2 separate regions of the Homo sapiens genome follow, and region 2 is linked to region 1. The links are contacts of gene promoters, found by promoter capture Hi-C in human tissues and cell types (Jung and others, 2019). All regions are on one chromosome and are shown on one strand. Each heading gives the region's core, a stretch centred on a gene start or on the middle of the fragment in contact. The rest is flanking DNA. Distances are from core to core; before and after follow the strand shown.

Region 1 (7,178 bases), core at 2,103-4,602:
TATAGTTTCAACAAGTCAGTATTATTATGTCTATAGTCAATGGAGAGACTGGAGAAGGCTTAGAGTAAAGCAACTCTACAATTATACTCCATAACTAACTGCAACAATGTAGACATACTCTGTTATCAATTAAATGTGGCAATGCCTGTGAAGTCTTCTTTTGTAGAGATGCTAAATCACTTTTAGATTCTAGCCCACAATTTACCGTACTGTGGAGTAAAATCATCCCAAATAGAAGGAAATAATATTTGGGCTGTCAGACTCTCTTCAAGGTCCTGTGTAGTAACCTCCACTTGACAGACTCTGCTGGGAAAGTAAGCTCATGTTAAAATATGGAACCACTGATTTGCTTCACTATAACTGAGGTGTCCTGACTTCTGATGATAAGCCACCTTTGATTTTTTTGAGTGGTTTACAGTAGCTCCCAGAAGAGGAGACAGCATTCTGGAAGCTCAAGTCACTGACTCCCAGCAAGTGGCCCACTCACATGGCTACTAGCAGGATTAAGCTCCTCACTGGCTGTTGTATTGAGGGCCTCAGTTCCCCACTGGCTGATGACCAGAGGCCTCCCTCAGTTACCTGCCACACAGTCCTCTCCATAAGGCAGCTTACAACATGGAAGTGGGCTTCCCTTAGAGCAAGACAGGGCATGCAAGAGAGAGTGAGAGCAACAGAAGTGACAGCAGTTTTGTACCCTAACCTCAGAAATGACATCCCACCACTTTTGCTATATTCTCTTTGTTATCAGCAAGTGACTAAGTCTAGCCCACACTAAAGAAAAGAGGATTACACAAGGGCATGAACACCAGGAGGTACAGACCTTTGGGGCCACATTAGCTGCTGCCTACACCTTCCTTGCATGCACAACAACACAGGAATAAACATCAAAATAGATAATAAATAGAGGGAAAATAGGGAAGCAGAAGGGAAAGGGAAAGTGTTCCAGCATCTAATTACTCATGCCTCAGAGCTCTCGCATTCTCTCTCCCCACCTCTAAATCTAGCCCAACAGCACACCCTCTGATCAGGTGCTCTCTTCACAGTCTCACACCTGTCTCCTCTTCTCTACCTGCATAGCACCACCAAAGTTCAGGCTTTCATCTCTTCACACCATGAATATTGCAGCACTACTTTTCTAACCAGGCTCCGTACTCCAATCTTTCTAACTCACACTTTTAACTTATCTTTATGGTACAGAAAGCCCTTCAGTAGCTCCCCATTGTCAAACAAAATCCAGACTCTTTAGGCTGCCGTTTGGTGCCTTCCATAATTTGATCCAGGCCTGGGTATCAAAATGCATCACCCCCAAGCCCCCAGTAACAATTCTCCATCCCAGGCAAACCATGCTCAACACCCAAACACACCATGTTTATACTCAGCTTGAAGCCTCTGCTAATACCATTATTCCCCCTCCCTCCGCAAGACCAGTCTTCACCTTACCATTACAAATCTTTGGCAATTTCCAAGATGCAGAGCAGAGCCCATCTTCTGTTACGCAGTTTCTGTTCACTCCTAACTAGATTTCGGTTCCTCTATGAACTGGCACAGCTGAGAGACCACCCCACCCACTGCACAGGCCAGTCCCTGTGTACCTGCCTGTTTTCCCAAGGAATCGGTAAGTTTCACAACTTCCTTCTTCCAGAGACCACCAGACTGCATCTCTGTGAGGGTGAGGATGGGTCTCACTCATCTTTCCCTCCTGACAGGAGGGCACAGCTGTTCCATGACAGGCAATATTGGTTGACTTAAGATGGACAGATGGAAGGAAGGAAGGAAGGAAGGAAATGTCAAGCCCAGGGTCTAGCATATAACAAGAGGTCAACAAGTAATACATATTTGTTAACACCACCAATTCTTACAATGGGAATTCTTCACCCAGCGACACCTTAGCTATGTAGGAGCCCTTCGAAAGAGAGCAAAGGCAAATGCAGTTTATCTGAGTCTGACACAAACAAGCCGACTCACACAAACATCACAACTAAAGGCAAATCCGCAGCTCCTCCTTCATCGCCCATCCTAACACTGGCTTAGCGATACAGGGTGCCAAGCTCAGGGAAATTATTAGATGGTTCAGCCAGGGCAGAACTCAGTCAGTACAAAGCAACTTCCAATCAGTGCGCTTCAGCTGTGACAACTTGGGAAACAGCAGTGGTGAGAGCTAAAAGGGTGCTGGCGAAAGAGAAAAAAAAATATGTCGCTTGTGGGGTGAGGGCGGTGTCCATATAGTTTAGATAATTCTAGTAAACAAAAGGATTTGTTAAAAAGAAGTAACAGAAGACTTTTTAAAGCCTTCTTTAAAGGGTGAAAATCTCAACTAAAGCACCCAACGTCCAAAATCCAGAGGAAATCTAGCGCTCCCTTTCTAGCTGGCTAGAGCAGTTAAGCCTGAAGTGAATTCTCCCAGGAATCAGATTCCTGGCCAAAGGTTGCCTGCGCAAACCCGGGCCACCCTCGTCTCACGGCAGGGAGCGCTGGAAACGGCTCAGGGGCTAGGCCCGTTAGCGTCGTCTTCCAAGAGCCGTAAATTCGCCCTCCCGCTCTGCTGACCCTGGAGCAAAGTCCATGCAGTGGTTCTCTGAGAGCCGGAGATACGCACCGCGCGGGGAACCCGGGGGTCCGGGGGCCCTAACTTTTGAGTTTTGCACGCCCCGCAGCCTGAGATGGGAAGGTAGCTCGTAGCGCTCCAAACTCACCTGCGTTTCAGAACGACATCTACCCACTGGTTTCAGCTCCTAGAGCAACAACTGCAGAATCTCCATGGTCCAAAGTCCTCCAGGAAAGAGAAGAAAGGGGTGACGGGGGTGAGGGCTGGGAGGCGAGGTCACCAGGGTCCCTTCCCTGGCTCGGGTGGGGGTGGGGGGCGCAACCCCTCACGGCTCCTCCCCACCAAGCCGTCGGGACCCCAGCGGGGGCGCCTCGCGTTGGGCGACAGGGACGCGGGGAGAGAGCGACAAGCTGGAAGCAAGGGCTGCCTGCAAAACTTTCGGTCCTCCAGCGGCAACTCTGCGGGAAAGACCACCCTTCCTTCGGCCCCGCGTCGGGCCTATCCCCGTGTGCCCCGACCCCTGCGCCCCAGGCTTGGGCGGCGCCGCTGCATCCCGGCTGCCGGGCGCGCTGCAGCCTTCGCTCTCCCGCACGCGGCGCTCGCCCGTCCGCGCTGCCCCTCCCCGGCAGGCGGGCGGCCCCGGCGGGCGGGCGGGCGCGGACTGCAGGTGCCTCTCTGCTGCCCCTGGCGGCCGCGGGCGCGCGAGCCCCACCGAGCCGGCTCCGGGAGCCCGAGCGCCCGCCCCTCCTCCGCTCCCTCTCCCCTCCTCCTCCGCCGCCCTCCTCCCATCCCGCCCTTCCTCCCTCCCTCCCCCTTTCAGAACACTCAATGTCGGAACGTTCCGAAGATGACGTCGGAGCGTTCTCGAATCCCGTGTCTCTCGGCTGCTGCTGCCGAAGGAACAGGGAAAAAGCAACAAGAAGGAAGAGCAATGGCGACACTGGATCGCAAAGTGCCCAGTCCGGAGGCGTTTCTGGGCAAACCCTGGTCCTCCTGGATCGACGCCGCCAAATTACACTGCTCCGACAGTAAGAACCCCACCACCTCCTCCTCCTTTTATTATCCTGTAACCTTTCCATTCACCTAGAGCCACTGGGAAAAAGTGTGTGTGTGAGAGAGAGAGTGGCCCCCGGTGTCCTCCATGCTTCTCCCTCTCTCTCTAAATAAATACACACAGAGACAGATCATCAATGCACAGGGAGAGGCCCGGCTGCCAGGGCTGTCTGTCTGTCTGTGCCCGGCTCCCCGTGGCAGCCCGCGGGGTGGGCTCGCAGCCCCACGGTGTTGTCCGTTTAAAAGGCTACTTTGTTGCTGCTTGCATAGTTTTTTGGGTACCTATCTGGGCCAGGTAGATGGAAACCCAGACTTGGGAGAAAATGTTGCATTGTCAATTTTTGAAAGAATTTCATATACAGTATTTATATCGATCTGTTTGCAAATAAACACTCTCCCTCCCCCCTTGACTTTGGCTTTTTTCCCCCCTTTTTTCCTTATTTTCTGTTTTCCTTTTCTTTTTCATCTGCAGATGTAGATTTAGAAGAGGCTGGAAAAGAGGGTGGAAAAAGCAGGGAGGTTATGAGGCTTAATAAAGAAGGTAAGTGGAGCTACTGGCATTTTAGTGTTAGCATGTGTGGCAGAATCTTCACAGGATTTCGAATATAATGTGAATTGTTCTGCTGGGTACAGAGTGACTAAGGCTTGTCAAAAATTGAGCACGCCCAGGTGACTACTGCTTCATGTTAACTTCTTTCAAAGTATAAATACAACTGGGGGGGGGGTAAAGGGGGGTGAGACTGTTGAAGGCAGAAGTTTACTGCACTTCAGTTGGACTCCACGTTTGAACCTTCTGATGCATATCTGCCATTCTCCTTGGGAGCATCATTGCCAAATGGTGGGGCGTTAAAATTTCTGAAATGAAGAGTGGAGTTCCCTTCACAAGCATCCCAGCCTTTCTCGTGGGTGAATGCACAACAGCTTAATGAACCCCACATGGTCAGTCATTCCAGCAGCTACTTCTCCACTCACCACTGAAAACCATTGTACATGGCAAACCTTTGCAGCAAGTTACATTTGGCCCACTTTGCATTTGGTCACAGATTGTTATGTGGCAAGCAGGGTTAGGAGCATCTGTATGTGCAGCCCCTCAGCAGTCATCATCTCTCTTTTCCCAGCATGGAAATACGGTACCTGAAATGGGACACACTGAGTAGATAGGTCATCCCAGACCAAGATATGCAAGAGAAGCCACAACCTGCTGCAATTGGGCATCAAACACATATGGTCGTCATAAATAAATCATATCCTGTTCTCATTTGCAAGCCTGCCGTATGTAACTCTGGCCTATGGGCTTCAAATGGAGCAACTCCGGGGGCCACTTGCTGCTAAGCAAATAGGTGGATTCATTTGAATTGTGATTCACTAACTGATGTCTTATAAACATAATTGGCTGAAATTGGGGGTGGGAAGATGGCACAAGGGGACAGAAGAGGTTGGTGGTATTGAAAGAGTTCAGACATAAGTAGGCCATAGGTGCATTGGTCATCCCAAATGAATGGAGAAAAGGCCATTAGATGCCAAAGAATGGTCCCCCTCATAAAAAGGGATGTCACCCTGGAAGGCAGCTGAAGCCTGCGTGGAAAGATGGAACTCATTTTATGAATCAACACTTCAGATGGTTGGTTTTCTGTGCCCAATCATTTCCTGACCATCCACTGAGAGGAAATTTTGTGCTTCAGAAAAAATAACATGAAGGTTAAAATGCGTACATATTCAAGGACAGTTCCCTAGCATAATGTTTCTGCTAATTAAGCACTTTGGGAACAAAACATTATTCTAAAGATGTTTGCTTCTAAATATCTTAGTGTGATCTTGACAGGTGTCTTCAGGATGCACGAGGGATTGATGTCAAGTGGACTTCTTACAAGTGGCAGCTTATTTGTGTTAAATGTTCATGTGTGTTGGCAGTGGGAAGCATCACTAGAGATTATTTTTCTTCACACACAAACTCTTGAGATCTCTAAGTGCTTGCAAGACCCAGTTATCAGGCTACTGGCAACGTGTCCATAAAAGATGATGAGGCTGTGGAAATCTTTAAATTAAAGTTGAGTAAAGGTCATGGTATAGCACAGGATTGTCACCTCTCAGGTCTGGGTGATGCGTTATGACTATCACACACAAAACTCACATCCTTTCCCCCCAGTCCCTGTTTCTATTTCAGAAGACTGTTGTTCTCAGATTCTCTTTGCCTCATGAGAAACAGATTTTTTTTTTTTTTTTTTTTTTGATACGGATTCTCACTCTGTCGCCAGGCTGGAGTACAGTGGTACGATCTTGGCTCACTGCAACCTCCGCCTCCCGGGTTCAAGCGATTCTCCTGCCTCAGCCTCCTGCATAGCTGGAACTACAGGCACGTGCCACCACACCCAGTTAATTTTTGTATTTTTAGTAGAGACGGGGTTTCACCATGTTGGCCAGGATGGTCTTGATCTCTTGACCTCGTGATCTGCCCACTTGGCCTCCCGAAGTGCTGGAATTACAGGCATGAGCCACCGTGCCTGGCTGAGAAACGGATTCTTTTAAGAAAAAATGAAAAGCTCTCCTTTCCTCAGAAGTCACAGGTGGTACATCCCGCTTATTAGGTCCTTTGTCCTATAAAGGTACGAAGATTTAGCTCCTAATTATACATATTTGCATTAAGGACACCCACTGTTCAGTGTAACTTGAAATTGCTAACTTCACCAAAATAGCCATATATGGGCTGAAATCTCTTTGTTCACAGGCCTGGTGGAACAGACTTGGGTGAGCAATTCCTGATGGTCTTTCTGGTATATATGCATGCAGTTTTCTTTATAGATAAAATATCTATATACTGAATACGTATTCCCCCATGGTGAGAAATTGAAGGGTTGAGCTGAGACAGGGTGTTTATTTGGTTACCTGGATCTCCAGTAATGCTTGCCATGGGCCCTCTTTTTGGAGTGATCAACAAAGTCCTGGGACGGATACATGTTTGTGGATGGGTCACTGCAGGACACAAAGTAGCCTGTGTGTGGCTGTGTACCTGTGCTTATGAATGTATGTAGATTGTCCATGACACTGTTGGCTTTAAGCAGGTCTTGAGAAGAAATTCGGCTTTAATGGGAATGAATGAACAAAATACAGTTTAGAAATTCCAACTGGGAATTGAAGGGAAGTGGTTCCGATTTTTGTTGTTGTTGTTGTTTTGTTTTGTTTTGTTTTGTTTTGTTTTTTTGAGACGGAGTCTTGCTCTGCCGCCCAGGCTGGAGTGCAGTGGCGCAATCTCAGCTCACTGCAAGCTCCGCCTCCCGGGTTCACACCCTTCTCCTGCCTCAACCTCCCAAGTAGCTGGGATTACAGGCGCCCGCCACCAAGCCCGGCTGATTTTTTGAATTTTTAGTAGAGATGGGGTTTCACCGTGTTAGCCAGGATGGTCTCGATCTCCTGACCTCGTGATCCACCCGCCTCGGCCTCCCAAAGTGCTGGGATTACAGGCATGAGCCACCGTGCCCGGCGGGTGGTTCCGATTTTGATGTTTTTTTTTTTTTGTGGTAAAATATACATAGCATAAAATTTATCATTTTAACCATTTTGAGTATACAATTCAGTGGCACTA
Region 2 (6,683 bases), core at 2,607-5,106, 180 kb before region 1:
CCAGAGGAAAAGGTGGGAGCCCCCAGGCTCTAGTCCCTGGGACCAGAATCACCCATGCCCCACCCCTTCAAGTCTCAGCTCAGATGTGGTGGGAGTGTAAAGAGTGCTGGATTGAGAGTTTAAGTTTTGGCTGAGCTCCTAACCAGCTTCCTCACATGCCCAGGAATCATGGACTCATAGCTCCCAGAGCCCAGGAAGACTCCCTCACCCACTAGGATGACTCACACAGTCCTGCCAGTCCTGGCTGACAGTGGTCCCTCCCATCCTGAGCAGCCGCCAGGTCATCGCATGCTCATGGCTCCCTCCAGTTGCCCTGCTGGACAGAGCGTGATGGAAGAGTGGAGAGCCCCAGCCGCAGGGTTCCTCTGCTCTCATCCCACTTTAGGTCTGCTCCAACCCCGTGAGGTCGGGCCCCTGCCTCCTGTGCCTTTCATGTCCCCAGCAGTTCCAGGGACGGGATAGGGACTCAGGAAGTATTTATGGCCTGGTTAATAACGAGCCCTGTCACAGCCTATGATTTGGGGTCCAATAAATCTGGGTTCCGATTTGGAGCCCTGCTGCCTGCTGGCTGGGAGGCTGAAATAAAGGCCTTGACCTCTCTAAGGCTCGGCTTCCTCCGCACTAAAGTGGTGGGTGCTTCACAGAGCTGATGGGAGGATAAAGGAAGTAAGCATATGGCCAGCAGAGGAGTCAGTAATAGCGTTCACCTCTCCATGCACCTGGAATCCTTGCCCACTCCCTCTAGACACAGGCTCAGAAGCCAGTGGAGCCTTTCAGGGTGGGGACCTCACTGGTTTTAGGGTCACGTCTGTTGCTGTGGAGGCAAATGGCACATCTGCTGGGCTCCACACTAGCCTGAGGAGAGGCCTTATGCTGCAGCTGTTTCCCAGCCGGCCGTGGTGAGGCGTCAGCAGGGCCCTGTTTAAACACAGCGCTGCGGGAGCCCCCACCCTGCACCTCAGATCCTTAAGACACCTGCTCCCTGATGCTCTCCCCAGGTCTCACCTGGTGGCAGGAGTGGAAGAAGTGATGGGATGAGTCACCACAAAGACCCTTCATGGAACTCATTAACTTTACAGAATAATGATTCTGGGACAGAGTGGATGTTTTTTTTTTTCTTTTTTGCCCCCAATTACTAAAAGAGTGGAGGATTTTAAATATACATAGTGTGCTCTGGTGATTGGCAAATTTAACCCCTGCTTGACTTAATTCTCAACAAGTCTCACAGTGATGCATTCTGGTGAGATTTCCAAGTTTCAGTCACTGCAGGAATGATGGAGGTGCATGGGTGCATGTCACTAGGGCACTTTATGGTTTACAGGGCACACTCACATACATTATTTCCTGTGATCCTCACCACAAATCTAGGAGGCAGGCAGGAAAGGAGTTCTTAGCCCTATTTTACAGACAATGGCATTGAGTCCCAGAGAGGTTGGGCAATTGCCCAAAGTCACACAGCTTATTTTTCGAAGCACAGTAACTCATGACCCCAGAGTTCACTTCATGTCTTCTCACAACAAGAGGGAGGAACAAGCACCATTGTCTGGCCTCATATATTGAGTTTTGATTCCTGGGTTCAGTTTCCTGTCACTATGCGCAGGGAAGAGACATGGATATCTGGAGATCAACTCCCCCTACTCCATGCTGTAGACTCCACTTTGGGAAAAGAGTACACAAGCGATGCAGGGGGGTGGGGGGTGAAAGAAATCCACATGTTTCATCCCCAAATACACTTCTTTGACATAATTTGAGATGGTTGTTCAGAGGGCCTGCAAACAGAAGGAGCCCTGCAAAGCTGTCTTTCTGGGGGAGATTTGCATCTGCAGAGAATCTGCATTGATGCAGCCAGGTTTTCTCAGGTTTTCTCAGAGGTCGTCCTTTGTCCAATCTAGGAAAAATTAACTGAAAATGGGACACCTTTAAAGGTCTGAAAGTAACATTTCCCATCAGTTCTCTCGGGGCTGCTCCCTGTGAGGTTTCGTCTACGTAACAAGATCATCTTGGCTCACCAGGCCTCCTCATCTTCTCCTCCCATAACCTATTTTGCCCCGATCCAAGCCCCCATTCTTTCTGTAACCTCAGGATGGTATATATACTTATACTTCCTGCACTGGCCGCTGCACACCACGCCCCTGCTCTTTGTTCCCCAGTAGCAGAGCCAGCATAATTTCATGCTTCCTAATTTCTGAGGATAGTGAATCAATTCCCCCCACCAGTTTGCCTAGAAGAAGAGCTTATTTAGACAGGAGGGTGGAGGAGGGTGGAGGGTGGAGGGTGGAGGTAATCACTCTGTGGTTCTCCCCCATGTGCACATTAACAAATTTGTCTGCCTTTTCTTTTATTAATCTGCATTTTGTGAGATGATTTTTCCATGAACATACAGAGGGCAAAGAAGTTTTTCCCTTGGCCCCTACTGTGGCTTCTCTGGACTGTGAGACCACCTTTAGTCTTGCCCAGGCAAGTTCTGAGGCAGGAGAATAGGGTCTGGAGGCAGGGAACCTAAGGCTGATTCACACTGACTAATTAGAACTAAATCAAAAGGGAAACCCCAACTTTCCACACCTAAGTAACAAAAGGACCAGAGGCTACTCCCTTTGTAAACACCCCCACCTGTCCGATTTGGTTGATTTCTGCAACCAATCAGACTGATTGCAGGCCACTACTTCATTTGCATGAAGTGTACACCAAGTGGCCTATGGGAAACCTCTAGGGGGTATTTGGACCCCTGAAGATCCTGTAACCAGCACCCTTGAACCGCTGCTCAGGCCTGCTCCCACCCTGTGGAGTGTACTTTCATTTTCAATAAATCTCTGCTTTAGTTGCTTCATTCTTTCCTTTCTTTGCTGTGCATTTTGTCCAATTCTTCGTTCAGAACACCAAGAACCTGGACAACTTGCAGTCAAGACCCTCCACCAGTAACAGTTCTAGCTGTCTCGACACACACAGAGGCTCGCCGTAGGCCCTGCTCCATTGATGCCCTGGGCAGTGGAGCCACAGAAGGCACCTCTGACCCAGTGCTCTGTCTCAGGCTGGTGCAGGCCAGGGCCTGAGCCTGGGCAAGGCAACACTGCACCCCTGTGAATCATGCACCCAGCAGGGGCTGTAACAGGGCTGCAAAGCCACCACCAGGCAGCTGCTGGCAGGACTAGGTTAGATGGTGGCATGCAGGGCAGGCAGGGCCTTCTGCACGTAAGAGGGACAGTGGCACTTCAGTCCCACCAGAAAACCCCTTTCGTCACCCATATGTTCAGCAGCCACGCACTACCTCCCGCTGTGGTGTATGCAGTACAGAGGCTGCTGAGTGATTGTGGAGGCAGCCAGGACAGAAGCTGGGAGGCATATTGTACAGTGACAAAGAACAAAGACGTTGGAGTCCCACGGCTTCAGGTTCGAATCCAGACTCCACTTCTTAGCAGATGGATGATCATGGGAAGTCATTGAGTCTCCCTGTGTGCCAGTGTCCTCATCTGTATACTGGGATAGGACAGCACCTCCCACAGGGGTTCTGAAGTGATGTAAATGCAATGCTTGGCCTGTAGTGATTGCCCCATCCATGGTTGATACCATAAGGGGTTAGTGAAATGCACTGTTTTTTGCAGCTGTGGTGCCATGCAAATAAAAGTTATTCTCAGGACTGCATATCGCTTTCACCCTGTCATAGGTTTCACATTTTATTTTGCTTATTTCCTGTCTCCCATTCGGAATAGAATCTCCATGAGGGCAAGGATTTAAGACTATTTTGTTCACTGGTATGTCCTCAAGTGTCTACAAGACTCTTTGTGCCTAATGGAAGCTTGATTTGTTGAGTGAAGGAAAAACAGGAAAAAAAAAAAAAAGAGAGAAAGAAAGAGGAACTGAGAAAGAAAGAAATAAAATCTCCTTGATATACAGATGACAAGGACTATAGCGGGGAGCCATCACAGGCCAGAGACATGCCCTGCCCGCTGTTTTCATGAAGGCCATGAGAAACAACAGCGACCCTTGGAAGCTGGACTGGCTTAGGAGACATACAGGGTGGGACGCCAGGGAGGGAGAGGAGCCTCAAACCAGACTTAGGAGAGCAGAGCAGCAAGGAGAATAGCCATGACCCAGGGGCTCGCTCAGTCACACCTGACTTAAGGTTTCACCAGTTCCTAAGAGCGGCCAGTTGGGAAGTAGCACCCAAACCCCACTGCTTAGCACGTGTTATGTATTGCAGGGATCCCTCACCCCCAGGGCCTGTTAGGAACTGGGACACACAGCAGGAGGTGAGCAGTGGGTGAGTGCGCGTTGCTGCCTGAGCTCCACCTCCTGTCAGATCATGGCAGCATTAGATTCTCATAGGAGCACAAACCCTACTGCGAACGGTGCATGCGAGGGATCTAGGTTGTGCACTCCTTATGAGAATCTAATGCCTGATGATCTGAGGTGGAACAGTTTCATCCCAAAACCACCCCATCCTCCTTGTTCATGGAAAAATTGTCTTCCATGAAACTGGTCCCTGGTGCCAGAAAGGTTGGGGACCGCAGATTTATTGGACAACAAGTGATGCAAACGTTCATGGCATACTAAGCTGTAGCTAGTTCTCATTCCAAGTATGAGTTCAGGCATTTCAGGACATGCTTTCAGCTGCCTGTTGAGGCTCTTAAAGGCTAACCAGGAAAGGTTTCCAAACAAGGTAAGCTCCCAAGGAAGAGTGCCAGCAAGATCCTGCGTGAGCGGGCCACATGGGCAGCCCCTTAGGAAAGGTGCCTTGGCAGACCTGGCTGCAGGCTGCGTGGGCTGCTTGTTACACACAGCTTTTGCCTTGGACAATAGCCTGATAAGGCTGCACACTAGGGAGAGGGTAGCTTTGTGGCCAGCTGAGGGAGTCCCTTTCTACCTGAACTTGGTCTAGAACGTGCTAGTTGTCAGCCATGTTTACCGTACCATCAATAGCCTGTCCTGAGGTCCTCCTGGAACTCAGTGTTGGGCTTGTGAGGTGCAGCGAACTACTTTTCTGATTGAAAATATGCTCTCTAGGCCGGGTGCAGTGGCTCATGCCTGTAATCCTAGCACTTTGGGAGGCCGAGGTGGGTGGATCACCTGAGGTCAGGAGTCCAAGACCAGCCTGGCCAACATGGCAAAACCCCGTCTCTACTAAAAATACAAAAATTACCCAGGCGTGGTGGCGCATGCCTGTAATCCCAGCTACTTGGGAGGCTGAGGCAGAAGAATTGCTGGAACCTGGGAGGCGGAGGCTGCAGTGAGCCGAGATTGTGCCACTGCACTCCAGCCTGGGCAACAGAGCGAGACCCTGGCTTCAAAGGGGGAAGAAAAATGTTCCCTAAAGCCCACCTGGCCGGATAAGACCTGGGGAAACATCAAAGGAAAGGATGAAGATGGAGTGAGGAGGTGTTTCTAGAAACTGGAGGATCTGCCACACTCGCCATTGGTGAGGACAGGAAGGGAAGGGGCAGGGGCAGACTCAGGCTCTGAGTGGGAGGATATTGGGGGAAGGACAAAACAGAGGGCTCTGCAGAGCCTGACAGGCCAGGCTTCCCAGGGAGAGGACCAGGGCCACTGAGAACCATCCAAGGAGCATCTCCAGGCCCCGGAGAGAGACTGGAGGAAACAGACTGGAGGAAATGGATCTCACTGCCTGTTTTGCAATTTCCTGGACACTGACTAGGTTAGCACATCCCTATGTTGACTGGCCCTATGTGTTGCCTCTTCTGTCAAATGCCTATTCATATTTTTTTCCCATTTTTCTTCTGAACTATCTGTCTATTTCCCACTCCCTCCACCCCACCAGGCATTCAGGACTCGATATATTCTTGAAGCTAATCCTTTGTCACTTAAGTGCTACACATATCTTTTCCCAGCTTGTGGCTTATCTTCTGAGTTTCTTTAAAATACCTGTGATGAACCAAGGTTCTTAAATTTAACGTGGTTGAAATCATGAATCTTTCTTTTTTATGATTTGTGATTTTTTGGTGTGTTATTTTTAAGAAATTCTTCCTCACTCCAAGATCAAAGAGATATTCACTTCCATTTTCTGCTGGTCAGATATCCCACCCACAGGGATGCTGCTGTTGTTTGGGGACCTGTGCCCAAGGCAAGGATGGGCAGACCCCAAACCTGACATGCTGTCCCCAGATGCCAGGAGGACCACATGTCAGGGCCTGCACAACCTTAGGGTGCCTTTCCTGTAAACCAGCCCCCAGACGTCACTGGGTACAAGCTAGTGCTCCTAATCTACCCCCTACCCGTACTTCGGCCAACACAAAAGGTGCCAGTGAGCCTGAAGCCATAAGATCCATGTGGCAGATTTGAGGGCCCCAGATGCTGTATTCAACTGGGGGTACTCAAAATACTGTGATCAGCACAGATCTGTCTGCTCACCACATGCCAGGATCTGCCAGGGACCATCTCACAGCTAATGATAAATCCTCCTGTCAGGGCCACAAAGCAGGGCTTTGTGTCACTGTGTTAGCCCGCATCGTCCCAGGGCAGGGCTCCAGGCTGAGCTGGTCAGCCCAGGCCACTGCAGACAATGGAGCCACAGTGGGGCAGGGCTTGCAATGGAAGTCAGTATGGAGGATGGTGACAAGAAGCAAACACCCTGACAGCAGCCAGGCCCATGCACGCCTCCCCGAGGAGGGAGGACAGGGCGGGGCAGGCTCTGCAGAGTCAACGGGCAACTTGAATCTTGCAGCATCTGG

What was found. The method cuts DNA at HindIII sites, captures the fragments that hold promoters and counts their contacts. A contact is called where the count stands out against the background at its distance.
Region 2: a fragment that was not itself captured here is called in contact with the fragment with the promoter of ATXN7L1 in region 1 in 1 of the 25 tissues and cell types used here (H1 embryonic stem cells).

What each region holds. Positions count from the first base shown.
Region 1 is chr7:105,872,773-105,879,950 of GRCh38, reverse strand. ATXN7L1 (ataxin 7 like 1) reads left to right here and starts at 3,352. Exons shown (of 12, transcript NM_020725.2): 1 at 3,352-3,573; 2 at 4,071-4,139. The coding sequence starts at 3,393. RefSeq lists a silencer at 3,100-3,309. The HindIII fragment of the contact is 16,114 bases long and covers 1-7,178 here.
Region 2 is chr7:106,058,644-106,065,326 of GRCh38, reverse strand. No RefSeq gene overlaps it. Among named protein-coding and RNA genes, the nearest start is that of SYPL1, 50 kb to the left of the region's middle. RefSeq lists enhancers at 2,429-2,478, 2,789-2,958, 2,989-3,118, 6,563-6,662, 6,536-6,683 and a silencer at 6,103-6,222. The HindIII fragment of the contact is 4,142 bases long and covers 1,786-5,927 here.